Linked DNA regions of Homo sapiens: region 1 is linked to region 2. Evidence: promoter capture Hi-C in human tissues and cell types (Jung and others, 2019). All regions are on one chromosome and are shown on one strand. Each heading gives the region's core, a stretch centred on a gene start or on the middle of the fragment in contact. The rest is flanking DNA. Distances are from core to core; before and after follow the strand shown. Region 1 holds the start of RAPGEF3 (Rap guanine nucleotide exchange factor 3). Region 2 holds the start of SLC38A2 (solute carrier family 38 member 2).

Region 1 (4,713 bases), core at 231-2,730, 1.4 Mb before region 2:
TTGCTCTTCCTTCTTCCAAATTACCAGAACTCCGTTGAATGGATTTGGGTCTGAGGTCAGATTCATTCTCAGGCTTTCCTCCTTCCCCGGAGAGGCATTTAAAACTCCACCAGCGTTTCTTAATGTGTGGACACAGCAGATGACCTGGGGTGTTTGTTCCAAATACAGATTTTCCATTTCATGCCAATAGGATTGAATATGAATTGCTGGGGACGGAGCCTGCATTTTAGTAAGCTTCTGGGAAACATTTTTTATACATGTATACATTAAAAATGGGATTTTAATCACAATTAAAATTTCTCTCCCCACTTTCAAGAAAATAATAATTGGTGGAGGATGGGGGCTTGGCATCCCAAAATTGGGAGTATAGGCTTCTTAGAGCTACCTCTTCCCAGTCTTCTCCTCACTTTCAAGAAAATAATCATGGTGGAGGATGCGGGCTTGGCATCCCAAAATTGGGGTATAGGCTTTTTAGAGATACTTCTTCCCAGTCTGGGCTGGCTCAACAGCAAAGGGAAAAGGGAAGAGAAGGGGCAAAAAGTCCTAAAAAGCTGGGGGTGGGGCGTTCACCTCCTTCCAAACCCTCATTATCGTCCTGAATTACGGGTCGCTGTCCCCGGCCACTGTCTCTCCACCCTCTCAGGAGTGGGGCGAAGAGGCCCGCGCTGGGCCATTTGCACAGTGGTGGAAACTGAGGCCCAGGGAGGCGTGGAGCCTCGGTAGCAAGCCTGCCTAGCAGGGCGCTGGAATGCCCGGTCTCCGCCTCAACCTACCCGGCCACCAGGGAGCGCGCGGTAGGGGGCGTGGTACTCGAACACCTTCTGCTCCCCTGGAAGCTCTGCCACAACCCCAATCTCCTCTTAGGGCCCCTACCCGTTCTGGAGAGCAGTCCTTCCTCTCCAGCCTCAGTTTCCTCAACTGCTCCCGGTGTGTGTGTGCTGGGGCAGGGGGCAGTGGGGCGTGGGTCTGGGAACGGAACTGTGGGAGGCAAGGCAGCGGGATTCCCCGCGGGAAAGCCGCCTATTCCCTCCCCCGGGCGGCTGGAGACCCTGAACCGAAACAGGAGGCAGACACCCCCAGCCGGGAAGCGGCCCCAGCCCGGATTTCCCTCCCGGGTGAGGCCGCAGTGACTCACCCCCTCCCCGCTCTCCCCGGTTTCCTTGTTTGCATTTCTCCTCCCGGCCACGTGGCGGCCAGTGCAGCCACTCACCGCCGGATCCCTGACACCCCGGCCGTTGCGGCCTCCTCCACACACTTCGGGGCCGCTCCTGCCCCCTGGGGATACTCTGGGCTCAGGCGGATGTCCACTCTGGTACCCCCGGGTGCGGACTCCAAAGCCTGCCAGTGCCGGCCCCCTTCCCCTACGCATTCCTCTACCGTAAGGCAGGGCGCCTCCACCCCGCCCCCTCCGCCAGTCCTGGGGAGGGGAAGGGGGCGGGCAGCGCAGGGGGTGTGACAGCTCCCGCCCGGACCGGTGCCAGCGCAGCCTTGCTTCAGCGCCCGGTGCCAGCTGGCTCCTTCGTCTGAGACGAAGGCGCAGGCTCGGGGCTCCCTGTCGCCGGTGGCTGGGTGGCGTCCCCCCACCACGCCCCCACCCCTCTACTCACCCAAGAGGAGCCTCTCCACCGAGCCCTGCATCCTGCTGCCCTGGCAGCCAGTCCAGCTAGGCACTGGCCCAGTTCACTGTACCTGGACTTACCCACTGGCACCCTCCGGATCCCCTTATCAAAGCTGATGGGGGTCGCTGGGGACCCCCCAGCCTTTTGCTAGAGCCTGCACGGCTGTGCGAGCTTGAAAAGAAACATGAAGGTGGGTAAGGTGGGGTCAGGGTTGAGGAGGAGCAGGAGAGGGCGGGAGAGGAAGCTGACACGGTGGGGAGTTTGGGTGGGAGAGGGAGGGTTAGTCAGGGCTGAGGAGGAGAGGAGAAGGGTTTAAGCCGAAGCTGCATTTCTGGGAGACCTAGTGAATCTATAGCTTCATACTGGGAGGTAGTGGAGATCCCTGCAGGGGCATGGGCAGTGAGATGGGACAGAATTCCAAAGAGGACTAAGAAGGGCCTGATCTTTTCCAAGAGCCAGCTGGAGACCCCTAAGTGCGCCAGACCGGCAGGCCCCAGTGAAGGTCTTCCTGTTCCTCCCCCCAGCTCCTGGCAGGGTTGCAGCACCTCCGCCTGACCAGTCCAGAGGACTCTAAGGAAGTAGTTCTGCCTGGGGCAGTTGTACTGTGGCCCAGCCGCCCCAGTCGTGTCCCATGGCTGTCCACTTTCCTCCCCGTGTCACAGGTGGGCTGGCCAGGTGAGAGCTGCTGGCAGGTGGGCCTGGCTGTGGAGGATAGCCCAGCTCTGGGAGCACCGCGGGTGGGAGCCCTCCCTGACGTGGTGCCGGAGGGGACACTACTCAACATGGTGTTGAGAAGGATGCACCGGCCCCGAAGCTGCTCCTACCAGCTGCTGCTGGAGCACCAGCGTCCGAGCTGCATCCAGGGGCTGCGCTGGGTGAGTACCTTTCACCTGCCCAGGTGCCAGGGCCAGTACCAGAGCTAGAGGGGGGCCTAGATCATGGCTTGGCATGCTGCTGGTGGCCCAGCTTGCTCTGGGGGTGTACAGTGGTACAGCTGCCGTGGACACTGGGTCAGGAAGCTTGTCTGCAGTGTGCGTGGGTGGCTCACACAGCTGCAACGTGTGTGTGTCTGTGTGTGTGTTCTGCCCAAATGTCTCTGTTTGGGCATGGGGGGAAGGGGAAAGGGATTTGTTGTTTATCTGTCACCTCAGTGAGCCGGCATTGAGTTAGGTACTTGTGTGTTCTTTCCAGGTGGAGGTGGGAGGTATGGGGGCCGGGTCAATGGGTTGGAGTGAGGTAAGCTTGGTTACAGTTCTGGGTGCATCACCGTGGCAACATTCTCCTTTAGTGAGTTACTGAACTGTGCTAATTCTGCGTTTTGGTCTTAGGGTGAGGTGATCATGTGGACACTGCTTGGTACCTGCCTTTGGGGGGCTCAGGGAAGGATTCTGAGACATTTGGAGAATCTGAGATCACCAAAGTGCCCTTTGCTAGTGAGAAACATCTCTGGACCTGAAAGAATGAAGGAGAGAGCAGGGAGGGGAAAGAATGGTGGGATTTGGGAGGCAAGATAATGGCTGTACTATCCAAATCAGCAGAGAAGCTATCCCCAACCATCCAGACTAAATAGAGTAGCTTAGCTTGAGATTCAGTTATGTCTCCACTGCGTGTGTCCACCCAGGTTTCGCTATGTTGCCTAGGTAGGTCTTGAACTCCTAGGCCCAAGCAATCCACCTGCCTTGGCCTCCCAAAGTGCTGGTATTACAGGCGTGACCCACTGCGCTTGGCCGGGAGAGTTCATTTCTTTTTTCTTTTCTTTCTTTTTTTTTTTTTTAACCAGAGTCTTCCTCTGTCACCAGGCTGGAGTGCAGTGAAGCAATCTTGGCTCACTACAGCCTCTGCCTCCCAGGTTCAAGTGATTCTCCTGCCTCAGCTTCCTGAGTAGCTGGGGCTACAGGTGTGCGCCACCACGCCCAGCTAATTTTTGTATTTTTAGTAGAGATGGGGTTTCACCATATTGGCCAGGATGGTCTTGATCGCTTGACCTCGTGATCTGCCCACCTCGCCCTCCCAAAGCACTGGGATTACAAGCATGAGCCATTGCGCCTAGCCGAGAGTTCACTTCTTATTGGCAAGTCCTTTTGAGTGGAATAACCACCACCCTCTCCCTCCTTCCCCCTACCTTGCCCAACTGCCATTTACAGTGAGGCTGAGTTGAAAAAACTGAGACCTACCAAGATGAGGGGCTCCTCTTTGCAATCAGAATTGAGAGGAGAGTCCACATGTCAGTCCTGGTAGAGCTGTTCTCTACTAGGGTCTTCCTTATCATGAGCCTGGGTCCTCCTCCGCTACCCCTCTGGCTCTCCGGCTCTCCGCTCTCCGGGTCACTGGCTGTAGCTATTGCCTGGAGCCAGTGGGCTGGAACCCTCCCTCCCTCCTTCCCTCTTGGGCTATAATTATTTGTGCATTTCCTGTCCCCTTCCCAGCTTGTGGAAGCAAGGTAGGGGGTAGGGAGAAGGTCAGGTGCCAGGACAATAGGTCACTGGAGGATCTCCTGGGACCTGAAGTCTGGGAGGGAGTGGAGGAGGCCACCAAGCTGTCTCCTGACTCTCCACAGCCCCCAGAAATGAAGGGCTGGTGTGCAGGGGAAGGCCAGAAAGGTGGGGGTAAAGGTTGCTGGAGTGTAAATGGGGTCAAAGGCACCAAAACAAGGCCTTTCCGTGCCAGGTGGGCGTTGGTGACTAGAGGGAACTTAGATTTTTAGTGTTTAGAGGCAGGCGGCCACTCCCTCTTCTGATGACCAACTTTGGGGACTGGGGTGGGGAGGTTTCATTCCATCATGCCTATATTTGAGAGGCTCTGGGTACCTGTGAAGCTGTACTTCTTACCTCTTGATGATGCCTTTAGCCCAGGGAAGGCTTCCGTGAGGGAATGAGTGCCAGCTGTGAGCATGCACGCCCATGGTGAAGGGGTGGAGCCCGAGTCCCAGGAAGACAGCACTGCCAGTTATTGAGGCCAGACCTCCCTCTTCGAAAGCCAAGGGGAAAACCCATCAACCTCCCAGAGAAGAAGTCTGAAGACAGCTCTTTCTGTTCCTACCTAGACCAGGACAAGAGAAAATGAAAGCGGGTTACAGTAGGAGGGCTTGCAGTTA
Region 2 (4,086 bases), core at 1,397-3,896:
TCAGGCCAAATGCTGGCTGAACTGCCACTCACCTCCTGCTGTGCAGCCCAGTTCCTAACAGGCTTCAGACTGGTACCAGTCTGCTGCCCAGGGGTTGGGGACCCCTGTTTTACATCACAACTCATAATACACACACACATATATATACAGACACACATAATCACATATATGTATACATATGTATACATATATACACACATATATATACACATAATCAAGATAAAAGATTTACAGAATAATAGTACATATGGCATACTGATTTTTTAAAAAAAATTATTCTATTCTACTGCATTGAAGAAAATAGAAAGCTAGTACTAATCCACTGAATTCATCACTATCCACCACTTGGTCCCATTCTGAAAGTTTAAAAAATGCTGCTCTTCTAGAACATTAGCTTAGAAATCAAACAAAATTATAGCGCACTGACCAATAGGTATTTGGCAATATCGTTTCCCAGAAATTGAATGAGGACACTGTGTCCAATGCATTCAAGCCCAAAGCATAACAGCAATTGCTCAGAGCACATCAGGCCTCAGTTGGAAGTCTGATGGAGTTAGCAGGCATGCCTCAGTTTGGCCCTCGAAAAGACCAATCAAACTGGCAATAAAAACATGGAAGTTTCACCCCTCCACCCTTCTTTTTTTGTCATTTACTGTTCAAGTTCTGATCATACAGAGACCAGATCAATATTGCAGCTCCCCCCCCCGCCCCTGCCCTCCACTTTGCCCTCAGCTGTACAGGTATTGTGCTTCTCCTAAATATGTGTTGCAATACAAACCACCAAAAAGTCCAAAAGACATGAGATTTACTTATAGTGCCACTTGCCACCCATAACTACCAACCCTGAGGGCCTCCTTAGCACCTCTAACTGGGCAGAGGAAACGACCAGAGATTCATCTGGAATGAAAAAGTGGTTTAAGACCTTTTGATTGTTATCAGTTGAAACCTAATATAAAGAAACTTCCTGGGACTCCTCTCTAACCTACCACTACCAAGATTGTTGTGACAAGAAGAGTTGATTGATTTTATTGGGGAATGTATGTGGAAGGAAGATAGTTTTTTCAGCCCTAATTGTGTGTCAAATTCCAAACCTGCCCTTGGGGAGTTCACAATCTTTGGGCAGATGATACTACAAATAGTCTGGAACGATTTTGAGTGCATGACAGCACGGATTTTTAAAAGTCCGTCACCATATTGTTTTAGAAAATAGTACCTGCAAAAAGAGGGCTGAGTACGGAGGGATTAAGGCATGCGGGGCGCTTTCCTGTGGCTCGAAGACTAAGCCTTGCATGACAGCGGCATTTAAGGGGATGAGAGGAGATTGGACACCAAAGCAAGAATGGCTATTATTTAAGACTGGCCTGAACAGAGTAGAAGGTTTGCGGTAGGGAAGACTGGCCTGAACAGAGTAGAAGGTTTGGGGTAGGGAACACAGGAGTGTGATGGGGGAAATCGGGACCTCGCTTGTCAATCATAAACACTGGTGCAGGCGAGGGCACCCGAAGCCTCACGTGCGGCGGAAATAGGCAGTTGTACGGATTTCCTCAGTAAAACATTGAAAGCAAAAACTGCGATCACACCCAGCCCTTTCCTCTATGCCCTGCCCAATTTCTCCCAAGTCCCCAAAAGGAAGAGAGCAGTAGGTCAAACTTGTTTATTCATTCATTCCATGAACATTTCTCTCTCCTAAGGGGTCTTTGTTTCCTGCAAGGGAGTGAGTCTTGCCTTTCCCGCAGCACCAATTTTTCCACAGCGAAGGGTCCCCCTAGTTGCCTGGCTCAGCAAGACCACACACATCACCATTGAAGGGAAAGGACCAGGCTCCGCAGAAAGCGCCTCAGACCCGCATTCAGACAAGGCAGTGCCTTTGCCCGGGGCGGCGGTGGTGGGATAAGAGAAGCAACGTGTCAGCGAGTGGAAAACTGGGGACTCCCAAACGGCCTTAGGAGCGCCGGGCTCCCCACTGGGGCCTCTTTCTAAGGGGCCTGGCTTGCTGGCCAAAAGGTAGCCTTTCCGCTAGTCCAGTTTCCATGGCCGTACAAAAAGCACATCCCGAAAAGGAGCTGCTCGCCGACCTCCGGCTAGTTTTGAAGAGTGAAAGCAGGTCTAGGTGGAAAAGAAAGAACAACAAACCATCAGGACAACCTTGCTGCCTTGGCCCAAGTTTGTGAGACAAAACTTCACTGTAAATCACAAAAATAACAATCAAGAAAGTGTTTGGTGGGAGGGTGGTGTCCCCCAAAAGCCTTGATGTGTCCCCCGAAAGCAAGGACTGCTGGTGACTCGGACAGGAGAAAATTTTAAGGAGATGGCTCCTCAAAGACAACCGCATGTGTTGAGCACCAACCCTGGCTGAAAAGGATAGGCAGGGGAAGCATCTGGGGGTCTTTCCAGACTATCTAGAAAGCTGGAGAGAGTGGGCTTGGGCTTTGCGGGAGAGTCTTGGGGGCGCCTGCGGGCGGGGCTGGGCCGCGGGCGCGGGCCGCAGAGGGAGGGGCAGGGAGGCGGGGCCTAGGTCTGGGCGGGTCGGAGGCGGGGCCCAGGTGGTGTTGATACACAAAGAGAAGGCGCCCGGGCGGCCGCGGTCCCGCCCACTGACGCGTCCCCGGGGTGCCGCTATAACCCGCCGCTCGCAGGGCTGCTCCACAGCCGCGCGACGCCGCCGCCTTAGAACGCCTTTCCAGTACTGCTAGCAGCAGCCCGACCACGCGTTACCGCACGCTCGCGCCTTTCCCTTGACACGGCGGACGCCGGAGGATTGGGGCGGCAATTTGTCTTTTCCTTTTTTATTAAAATTATTTTTCCTGCCTGTTGTTGGATTTGGGGAAATTTTTTGTTTGTTTTTTATGATTTGTATTTGACTGAGAGAAACCCACTGAAGACGTCTGCGTGAGAATAGAGACCACCGAGGTAACGCGTGCGGGGGGGCGTCTGTGGGAAGGGCGCGGGGCCCGGGCGAGAGTGGGGGAGGGGCTTCCGGGAGGGGCCGCGCGGGAAGGCGGCCGCGGGGTCCGTTTCCTTTCGAGGCGGGCGTTGTCGGTTGGGCTGGCCAGCCTTCCACCCTGGCCCGCCGCGCGGGTGTCGCGCCCGCGACGTGGGTAGGAGAGCGGGCGCTGGGCGGGGGCCGCGTGCCTGCACGGTGCGGAGCCGCATCTTCCCATTAGGGGGAGGGGAGCTAGCCCGGCCAGCGGCTCTGCTGCGGCAAGTCTTGTGACTGATTTGCATTTAATAAAAAAAAAAAATTAAGTCCAGGGAGCCAGGAATCTGGGGGCGGCGGAGGTGGGCTTGGGCATGTATTACAGGAGAGGCCAAGATTGGGGAAGACGAGTTGGGAACATTTGACAATCGACGATCGATATTGCATCAGTTTTCTTTCCGGACATAGGAGGGGCTGGGCGGGCGTAGCACTCGCGGGCCAGCTGCCTGTGGACGGGTGTGCTTGAGGGCACTGGCGCGCGTGTGTAAACAAACCCCCAGCTCCCGGGGCCCGGGCGTTCGCCCCCCTCGAGAGAGGAGTAGTGTCGGCCCTTTCCGCCTCCTGGGGAAGGCTGTCTGCGGCAGAGGCATTTCTCCGTGTGGGGACTCCGGGCAGTAAAGGACAGATTACGCAGCATTGCTGTTCCAAATGCTAGAAACGGAAAGCCGTGCGCCTAGGTTGCATGCACACGAGCCAGGGTCGGGGCTGGATGTGTGCCCTGAGTGCCTGTGCAAGTTTGGAGCGACTGGGAAAAAGCAAAACAGAACCCCCCCTCGCCCCCTCCACTCCGACGAGGGACAATAGAGAGGGTGAAATACTGAAATCTGCCGGAGTAGGGGGCCTCGACGGCCGCAACACAGCGGTGGCATCATCTTTGTTCTCCCCGCGGCTCCGCCGTCTGTACTTTTCCGCCCCTCGGCGCGCCCCCGCCCCTCGCGCGCGGCTGGTACTTTTCCACTCGCCTGGCCTGGGATGAATCAGCCGCGCTGCGCCTCCGGGCGGCGTCACGTGACCGCGGCGGGCTGGCGCTGCGGTCCTGACGCGCCGCCTCTACTTTCGCAGGCCGACTCGCGGGCCGCTGCACCCACCGCCAAGGACAAAAGGAGCCC

Evidence for each region. Contacts are between HindIII fragments. The study calls those that stand out against the background at their distance.
Region 1: the fragment with the promoter of RAPGEF3 here is called in contact with the fragment with the promoter of SLC38A2 in region 2 in 1 of the 25 tissues and cell types used here (hippocampus).

Annotation. Positions count from the first base shown.
Region 1 is chr12:47,755,647-47,760,359 of GRCh38, reverse strand. RAPGEF3 (Rap guanine nucleotide exchange factor 3) reads left to right here and starts at 1,480. Exons shown (of 28, transcript NM_001098531.4): 1 at 1,480-1,809; 2 at 2,282-2,494. The coding sequence starts at 1,804. It also overlaps a transcript of SLC48A1 not described here. RefSeq lists enhancers at 932-1,600, 1,601-2,269, 4,483-4,552, 4,583-4,713 and a silencer at 1,311-1,660. The HindIII fragment of the contact is 24,154 bases long and covers 1,437-4,713 here.
Region 2 is chr12:46,371,333-46,375,418 of GRCh38, reverse strand. SLC38A2 (solute carrier family 38 member 2) reads left to right here and starts at 2,646. Exons shown (of 16, transcript NM_018976.5): 1 at 2,646-2,910; 2 at 4,040-4,086. SLC38A2-AS1 (SLC38A2 antisense RNA 1) reads right to left here and starts at 2,636. Exons shown (of 2, transcript NR_187299.1): 1 at 2,557-2,636; 2 at 1,641-2,106. RefSeq lists enhancers at 2,087-2,146, 2,827-2,906, 2,764-3,467, 3,157-3,486, 3,567-3,716 and silencers at 2,397-2,736, 2,937-3,136. The HindIII fragment of the contact is 23,415 bases long and covers 1-4,086 here.